Linked DNA regions of Homo sapiens: region 1 is linked to region 2. Evidence: promoter capture Hi-C in human tissues and cell types (Jung and others, 2019). All regions are on one chromosome and are shown on one strand. Each heading gives the region's core, a stretch centred on a gene start or on the middle of the fragment in contact. The rest is flanking DNA. Distances are from core to core; before and after follow the strand shown.

Region 1 (4,709 bases), core at 1,779-4,278, 220 kb before region 2:
TATGTAAATGGAAAACCAGTACCTTTTGCCACAAATAACACAGCAATAATAGCTAATACTTATATAATGCTTATTACATGCCAGGTCTTTATTCTAAGCTTTTTACATTTATATAATAATGCACTTAATTCTCACAACAACCCTATGAGGTAAGCACTGTAGGTACTTAATCCATTTTACAGTTAGGAAACATAGAGGTTAAATAACTTGCCCAAAATCACAAACTAGTGAGCGGCAGAGCTAGCATACGAATCTTAGGTGATATGATTCCAGGGTCCATGCTGTTATATAAAAATAGAGGTTACCTTTTAAAATAGAAGGTTCTTAGGAAGTATGTGCTTATTTAAAAAAAAAAAAAACAACAGTCTACACCTCACCTAAGATCCTTTCTCATAGCATCAGTCACACCTGAACTACTGTTTTTTTTTTTTTTTGAGACAATCTCACTCTGTTGCCCAGGCTAGAGTGCAGAAATGTAGTGGTGTAATCTCAGCTCACTGCAACCTCTGCTTCCCAGGTTCAACCAATTCTCATGCCTCAGCCTCCTGAGTAGCTGGGAATACAGGCACACACCACCATGCCCAGCTAAGTTTTGTATTTTTAGTAATGACTGGGTTTCGCCATGTTGCCCAGGCTGGTCTTGAGCTCGTGGTCTCAAGCAATCCACCTGCCTTGGCCTCCCAAAGTGCTAGGATAGTAGGCGTGAGCCACTGCACCCAGCTGAACTACATTTTTGAAAACACTGATTAGGAAATTGGTTTGTCAGTTGTGTGTACTCTAGAAATGCTAGGGTGAAGTAGTAAGTAGGGAAGGGTGACCAGAGTTCATTAGGAGTTAGTTGAGATCTTAGAGTAGTTGGGTACCAGGTTATACCTGTGAAAATTCTGTGTAAACAGATCTGCAAAGCACTAGGTAAGGTGTGACCGAATTGATACGATTTGCGGAATGGAAGTGTTTGCCAAATCCAGCTGGTTCTCAGAATCCTCTGGGGCTCTTATTACATAAACAGATTTGTTGGGTACATCACAGAGGGAGCCCAGATAAAGCACTGAGTATGGTGCCTGACACGCAGTAAGCAGGGGTATTATTAATAGTAATTGTCATTTTATTGAGTGCTTACATTGTCCTGAGTACTTTATGTAGATTGTCTTATTTATGTCTGATTACACTTCTAAGAGGTGGAGTCTATACTTATCCCTATTTTTCAGACAAGGGAATAAACACTGAGAGGTATCTAGTATGCAGAACCAGAATCTGAGCCCATCATCTCCTTAAACACTGTATTATTGTACCCTACAATGCTTACTGTTATCATATTTATTTTGGCAAATGAGGTTTCTGAGTTTGACACTGGCTGTTTGCAGGTTTCCCTACTAAAATTTCCAGTGATTTGACTTCAACTCTTGGTTTCTAGAGAAGCATAGCATAGGAAGAGATGTTAGATGTGTTTTCTTCTACCCGCTTCACTTTTCAGAAAGGGAGGTTTTGAAAGGGGTGCAAACCAAAAAGTATGAGACAGGTCTCAATCAATTTAGAAGTTTATTTTGCTAAGGTTAAGGATGCATGCCTGGGAGACAGGTCTGTACCTTTCTCCAAAGATGATTTTGAGGGCTTCATATTTTAAGGGGAAAGGGTGGATAGTGGGGAAAGGGGAAGAGATTTTGAAAAGGTATGGGTAGGTAAGAGGCAAATGGTTGCATTCTTTGTTCACATGTGAGAGGGGGTAGAGGAATAGTTACTTATGCATTCATCTAGTTCAGTGAATCTGCATTTTTACATAAGATAATTAGGGCAGAGGAAGCAATCAGATACGCATTTCTCAGGTGAGCCAAGGGATGACTTTGAGTTCTGTCCTTTGTCCTGTACCTGTGAAGATAAGCTATCAATTTATATTGTCAGGGTGAAATTCAACAGAACTGTTTTAGGGTGAAGAACTTGGGGCCCCCAAGGAATTTTCAAGTGGGCAAATTGTGAGGGAGGTATGTACCTTTTTCATCTTTGAATGGGAGGCAGGTTTGCATGTTGAAGTTCCTAGCTTGACTTTTCTCCTTGGCTTACTGATTTTGGGGGTCCCAAGATTTATTTTCCTTTCACAGGGGATTATAGCTTGCCTATGGAAACATTTAAAAGAAACATTTATAAGAGAGTAAGTCGGCCAGGCGCGGTGGCTCACGCCTGTAATCCCAACACTTTGGGAAGCCAAGGTGGGCTGATCACCTGAGGTCAGGAGTTGGAGACCAGCCTGCCCAACATGGTGAAACCCTGTCTCTACTAAATACAAAAAAAATTAGCCGGGCGTGGTGGCAGGCACCTGTACTCCTAGCTACTCAGGAGGCTGAGGCAGGAGAATTGCATGAACCCAGGAGGTGGAGGTTGCAGTGAGCTGAGATTGCACCACTGCACTCCATCCTGGGCAACAGAGCGAGACTCTGTCTCAAAAAAAAAAAAAAAAAAAAAAGTCTTTGAACTTCTAGTGTTGGACTTTTACAGCAGAATTTAAGAGCCCACCTTCCAGAGCCTGATGCAGCTTGTCTGTCTGATGCTTTTGTTCCCCATCCACGTCCCCCCCAGTGCTGAAGCTGTTTCGTGTGTCCTTACAGTGTTTCCTCTGCACTTCCACTTGTGGTTGATAAGTGGCAGGGGGACAATAAATAGAGTTGATGAAAGATGGGCTTGGGCAGCAGTGGGCCCAAGTGAGGCAGAAATGAGAAAAGGACTCCTGGGGCAGAGGTGGAGTGACAAAGCCTTGAGCACGAGGGTGTGAAATGTGAACTTGGTGCTGACCTCTATTGGGCAGCCGGGGCACCACGGAGGTGGATGTGGTGTCAGTGAGACCAGTGAGTAATTTTAGCAGAGATACTTTAGGGATGACTTGGGGAGGGCAGCAGGCTTTTTTAAAATATATATACTTCCCAAAATAACATTGCTTCAGAGTAGTTTCCTAACTGCCCTGGGACAGGCCTGAGATCCTGTCCCAGGGTACTTGGGGGGCACATCCTGTCTTAGGGAGAGGTATTCACCTCCCCATTCCCATCCCCAGTCCTGGCTGCTTTTCCTAAATGCATCATTTATCCACCCACATTGCCCCATTCTAACCACATATCACCTCTTTAGAGATACCTTCCCCTTCATTGAGGGAGCATCCCTCTAATAACCATTAGCTCCATATTCTGCTGGGTTTCTTTAGAGCACTTGTGAAAATTTGGAAGTATTTAATTTGTTAAATCTTCATTGTCTCTTTCCTCCATTAGAATGTGAGCTCCCTGAGAACAGGGACCGTGTGTATCTATATTATTCACTCTGTATCCCTAGCCCCTAGCATAGTGACCACCACAGCACAAGCACTCTGATATCGGATAACTGAGTGAGTAATAGTAGAAGCTGACATGCACCTAGACACTAGGAATTCAAAGATGGTATAAGACACGGCCCTTGTCCTCAAAGCTTTCATAGTCTGGTAGAGCATATAGATGTGTAAATGAGTAAATATGGTAATATTAACCAACATATGTTCATTGAACAGTTACTACGGGGTCTTCTAGTAGGTGATATGGGAAGACAAAAGAATGCAAATGACAATATTCCAGTCCTCAAGGAGCTTATAATTTAAAAAACTTAAAATAGCAAAAACAAAAAAAAACAAAAAAAAACTTTCTTTGTTTCTGTAAACCCAATTTTCTTTTCATTATTTCTAATCGAGCCCCTAGTTAACTTTGATGGAAGGGGGGCTGGGGTGTGAGTGGATAGTTGCTGCAAAGATGATTTTCATAAATCATCTTTTCCTCTCCCCCAACTAATTAAGAGATTGAGCTCACTCATACATATCTCCTTCATGGCCTACTTATTAGAGGTTTCCCTTGCTTCTCTTTTAAAATGCAGACATTTCTGTTGGGTGAATGCAGAGAGAGGGAATTATTTCAGAACTAAATGAATCCTCAATTACTTATTTCAATTACTTTATTTTATTAAAAAACCCCAAGGCCTAGAAGGATATCTGATGTGTTTAAGGTTATACAGATTGGAAGCAGAGCTGGGCTGGAACAGACAGACCCGTGGCTTCTTGCTCACTATTTGTCTCTCTTCCACTTGCCCCTGGTGCATTCAAGCAAGATGCTAGTGTCCACATGTCTATAGAAGAGCAGATTTTGTTGTTGTTGCTGTTTTATGGTAAACATCATTTGACAACCCATTTCTTGGAGTTTTGTCACTCTGAATACAAGATCTGCTATATTGGATTTCACTATGCTAATGATTCTAGCATTCTTTAGAAAACATATAAGAAATTTCACAGCAGAATGAGCATTCTCAGTGGTCACCTTGAGAGACTGTAAATCCCTTCCAATGATTGTGATACTGCAAAAAGCATTTTGGAAAAGCCATGCATCTTGAATCCTGAGATGAGCCTTTGGGATCCCTCCCAGGATGACAAATCTTCACGTGTATTTTAAACATTAATTTGCTTTTAGGATCTAGTCTAAGGTTATTTGGAACTAAAACTTCTGAGTAGTCCAAGATAATAGAGGTGTAAACTATTTGTTAAATGAATAGTAAAGATTGAGCAACTGTCTTGCATGGTCCAGAAAGTGCCTTTGAAAGCCACTCCAAGAAAGACATTCCAAACATGTTTCGAACGGTTGCAGCATTGTTGGGATTAAGGAGAAGGCTCCCAAGGTATCCTCCTAGAGTCCAAGGTATAAATTCTGTTACTC
Region 2 (4,452 bases), core at 1,381-3,880:
AAAGGCTTGCAAAAGCCAGTCATGGAGATGCCAGAGCAAGAGACCACATGTCTCATGCCCGGCTGCTGCTCCAAGGGTGGGAATTCTGGGCTGGCTCAAGGGGTTAAGTTGGAGCTTTCACATCCAGAGCAGAGTCAGGAATTGGCTAGCACACCCTGGCCTCTTCCTGTTCGCCTGGCAGGCTGAGTGGAGATCTCACTTCCTGAGCTGGGGGGTGACCCGGCAGGATGCAGGGGAGCAGGAGGGAGTGGCTGTGAGAGCCAGCACTAAGCAACCTGGGCCATTTCCCCTCCAAGGGAGGGGAAGGAAGAGGAAGGGCTAGTGGCTAGGAGTCTCCTGTAGCTCTCACACCCAGAAGCGCGTTGGGGAGCTCTGACCCTCCCTTCAGGGCACTGATCTTGAACACCAGGCTTTCAGAAAAAGCCTTTCAGTAGAATCCAGTGCATTGGTACTTTACAGTTTCTAACTGCTCTTCCATCCATGGCCTGTGTCTTTCTGGCCACAGCTCTGATGAGCAGAGCAGGGCTTTGGGAAATTATTATTCCCATTGGAAAGATAAGAAAGCTGACCGATCTCGTCTGATCTCGGAAGCTAAGCAGGGTCGGGCCTGGTTAGTACTTGGATGGGAGATAAGAAAGCTGACGCCAAGAGAGGTTACAATGAGCAACCTGGACCAGGTCATATACAGCAAATCAGTTCCAGAGCTTAGGTCTCCAGAACCCAGGTGTCTTGGCAAGGTGTGGATGGGCCACACAGAACCTTTCCATCTGTCCTGGGTGGGGCATGCAGAATGCATAGGTCCTAGAGGTAAGGAACGCTAGGCTCAGATCCAGACCAGCCAGAAATCCCAGGTCCTCCTCTTACTCACTGTGTGACCTCCTTGAACCAGGCTCTGAACTTCAGCCTCAGTTTCAAAAATCTGTATAATAGGTACTATCATGGTACTCAACACTGTGAGTAAGTTAAAATATGTAAAGTGTTCAGCACAGAGCCACAAAGGGGACCTTGCCTCCCTAATATACTCCCAAGAGAGCAAAACAGCTCAAGACCCTATGAACATGGTCAGAATAAAAATGGAGTCACTAATGTTAAGAAAACCTTGACAAATAGAGCTGGGGAAGGCCATAGAGGGTTTTCATGCTTGCATAACAAATAAGACTGATAACAAAACAGATAACAACAAGACTGATAACAAAAAAGACTACAAAAATCACAACCTTGCACAAAGGCCATTGAAACCTTGCACAAAAAATACTTCCGCAAGGACATCTGCCCAGCAACTGCCTGTCCAACTTTAGACTGGCATCACCCTTGCTATTGATCTTTGCAATCAAGAATAATTATTTCAGAAACAATAATGTAATCCTTATTTTTTTCCTTTAAAAATCTTTGTCTTCCCCCCACCTCCCTGAAAATGCACATCGCTTACTATGGCATATGGGTAATTCCCACTGCAATGCTTAATTCCTAAGTGAAACATCTTTTATTTTAGAGAGCCTCTGTTTGTTCTTTAATTTGACAACCACTAAGCAGGTAAACAGTTAATGTTTACTGAGCACTTATTTTTTTTCAGTTTTTTTTTTTTTTTTTTTTTTTTTTGAGATGGAGTCTCAGCCAGTCACCAAGGCTGGAGTGTAATGGCTGGATCTCAGCTCACTGCAACCTCCACCACCCAGGTTCAAGCGCTTCTCCTGCCTCAGCCTCCAGAGTAGCTGGGATTACAGGCATGTGCCACCGCACCCGGCTGATTTTTGTATTTTTAGTAGAGACAAGGTTTCACCATGTTGGCGAGGCTGGTCTCGAACTCCTCACCTCAGGTGATCTGCCTGCCTCAGCCTCTCAAAGTGCTGGGATTACAGGTGTGAGCCACCACGCCCAGCCTTACTGAGTACTTAATATGTGCCAGAAGTTCTTCTAGGTGCATTTAATCCCCGCAAGGTCACTATGAGGTTAAACTAGTATTATGCTCATTTTAAAGACGGGAAAACTGAGGCACTGGTGGTTAAGGGACTTCCCAAAGGTCATAACCCTAGTAAGTGCCAAAGCCAGGATTCGAATTCAAGCAGCCTATCTTCAAAGCCCACGCATACTGCCTCCCTTAATAGTAATGATTAATTTTTTAAAATCATAACTTGCTTGGCTACAATACTCTCTATAAGGCACTTTCCATCCACCTTTTCATTTCTCACCACAGCAGCCTAGGGAGGGAGGCAGTGTTGACTCCCAACTTATAGAGAGGAGGGGGAAACAGGCTGTGACAGGGGGAACTGACTTGCCTTGCCAAGGTCACACAACAAGGTCAGTGGCAGAAGTAGGGCTGGAACTTGGAATTTTCCAAACCAGGACTTCAAATGTGGGGGGCCCTTTCCCAGCCTTGGCCAATTCCCAAGCTCCCCCAATAACCCGCCTTCTGGCTAGAGGCCTTGAGCCTCCCTCCTCAGGTCAGCTCTGCCTGGGCTTCCACCCTTCAGCTGCAGGGTCCCAAGGCTGTGTCCTCCACACCCCCTGCCCTCCCCATCAGATGGGAGGGGCAGGAACTCCAGGGCTGGTGGAGTTTCCGACCAGGCAGGAAAAAGAACAAAGGAACTGGATGTGGGGGTGGAAGGGATGGCCAGGAGGGTGGCAGGAGTAGAGGGGACATTTCACCATGGAATATGAAGTCAAGAAAGGGAAGAAGGTAGGTGGGAGGTTGGGAGGGACGAAGGGAGAGGAATGTCCCCAAAGCTGGGGAAGGGGGCAAACTGGGGCGGGGTGGGGGGTCGGTAGCGAGGGGCATAAGTGGAGCCTTTCTTCTCATTTGGAAGTAACTTCCTTCCCACTCTTGGACAGCCAGACAGTCAGGCTCTAAACTCCCTGTTTCTCCACTCTCAGTGGCCTCTGGCATCCCTAACGTGGACAGACAGGGACCTTCTCAGGAAACCTGGCCAGACGGACTCAGTTTGGGAGATTCTCCACACCTGCTTCCCTGGTGTTCCCCGCAGCTCCCTCCTGCAGCCTCTCAGACAGACGGACAGACAGACACCCAGCAGATCCATTCTCCTGCTCGTCACTGCCCCAAACAGAAGGACTCAGCCAGGGCAATTCCGATAGGATGTTGCCTACACAGGCTTGAGTCTCCCACCTGCCCCCTGCCCCTCCCACCTTTCTACAAGGGCGTATGTAAGGCGTCAGCCAGAAGCCATTCCCCTCACCCCTTCTGACTCTGAAGTTTTCTAGTATGCTTCTCTGGGTGTCTCACCTGGTTGTCTTTGGAGTTCAGGGAGGCGCTCTGATTTTAACTTCCATCTTACCCCCATTTCCACCCTCCCCTCTACCCCACCCCCACCAGAAACATATGTCCGGGCTGTTCTAAAAGGTGCCCACATGAATCACAGAGGGCTCAGAAGGGAGCCAAGACATACGTGCATGTTTTCTCTTAGTTTGTTCTTTTAATAGACATTTATTGAGTGCCTATTATGCACCAGGTATTTCTTTTTTTAAAGCAATAAATAAGTTAATGTAAAATTGCATAGAAGGGCCGGGTGCAGTGGCTCACACCTGTAATTCTAGCACTTTGGGAGGCCGAGGCGGGTGGATCACCTGAGGTCAGGGGTTCGAGACCAGCCAGGCCAACATGGCGAAACCCTGTCTCTACTAAAAATACAAAAATTAACTGGGCATGGTGGCACATGCCTGTAATCCCAGCTACTAAGGAGGCTGAAGCTTGAACCTAGGAGGCAGAGGTTGCAGTGAGCCAAGATCGCGCCACTGCACTCCAGCCTGGGTGACAGAGTGAGACTCTGTCTAAAATAAATAAATAAATACATAAATAAAAATTTTTTAAAAATCATAGGAGGTCCCATACTCAGTGCTGGAGGAAACTGATCAGTTTGAGTCGAGAACTGACGGGTGGAAGGAAAGTGGGTAGGGAAGAGTGTTTGAGGCAGAGGAACAGCATGTGCAAAACCCCACAGTGGGAAGTCACATAGCAAGCCAGAGGGACTGAAGGAGGACTGTGTAGTGGGGGCCCAGGGGACAAGAATGAGGCAGATGGGGCTGGACAGGTGGGCAGAGCTGAGCCATTCAGGGCCACCAACAAAAATACTTACCCCTCCCCACCCCTAATACACACACATACGCAAGACAAAGTCCCAGCTCCATAGCCGGCATTCAAGATATGTTCGTCTCATAATCTAGCCACGGCAGACTGACTGCACACAGCTTCTCCAGGCTCACCCTCATCCAGCCTTTGAGGCATCCAGAATTTTGCACATGCTGTGCCCTCTGCTTGGCATGCTTTCTCCCAGATAGTTTCTTCTCATTCCTTAAAGTTGCTACATACCCCATCCTGGCTCCATGATATGGGTTCTAACATAAGCTGAGTACCCATAAGAATCACCTGAGGGCTCATTAAAACACAGATCACTGGGTCTTACCCCCAGTTTCTGGGCCAATAGGCCTGGGATGGGGTTC

What was found. The method cuts DNA at HindIII sites, captures the fragments that hold promoters and counts their contacts. A contact is called where the count stands out against the background at its distance.
Region 1: a fragment that was not itself captured here is called in contact with the fragment with the promoter of CCM2L in region 2 in 2 of the 25 tissues and cell types used here (H1 embryonic stem cells and bladder).

Annotation. Positions count from the first base shown.
Region 1 is chr20:31,785,982-31,790,690 of GRCh38, forward strand. All of the region lies in intron 12 of TPX2 (TPX2 microtubule nucleation factor), which reads left to right. Among named protein-coding and RNA genes, the nearest start is that of MYLK2, 31 kb to the right of the region's middle. RefSeq lists enhancers at 1-138, 2,275-2,774. The HindIII fragment of the contact is 7,543 bases long and covers 1-4,709 here.
Region 2 is chr20:32,007,808-32,012,259 of GRCh38, forward strand. CCM2L (CCM2 like scaffold protein) reads left to right here and starts at 2,631. Exons shown (of 10, transcript NM_001365692.1): 1 at 2,631-2,677. The coding sequence starts at 2,648. It also overlaps the pseudogene RNA5SP481. RefSeq lists enhancers at 2,453-2,980, 3,891-4,452. The HindIII fragment of the contact is 15,048 bases long and covers 1-4,452 here.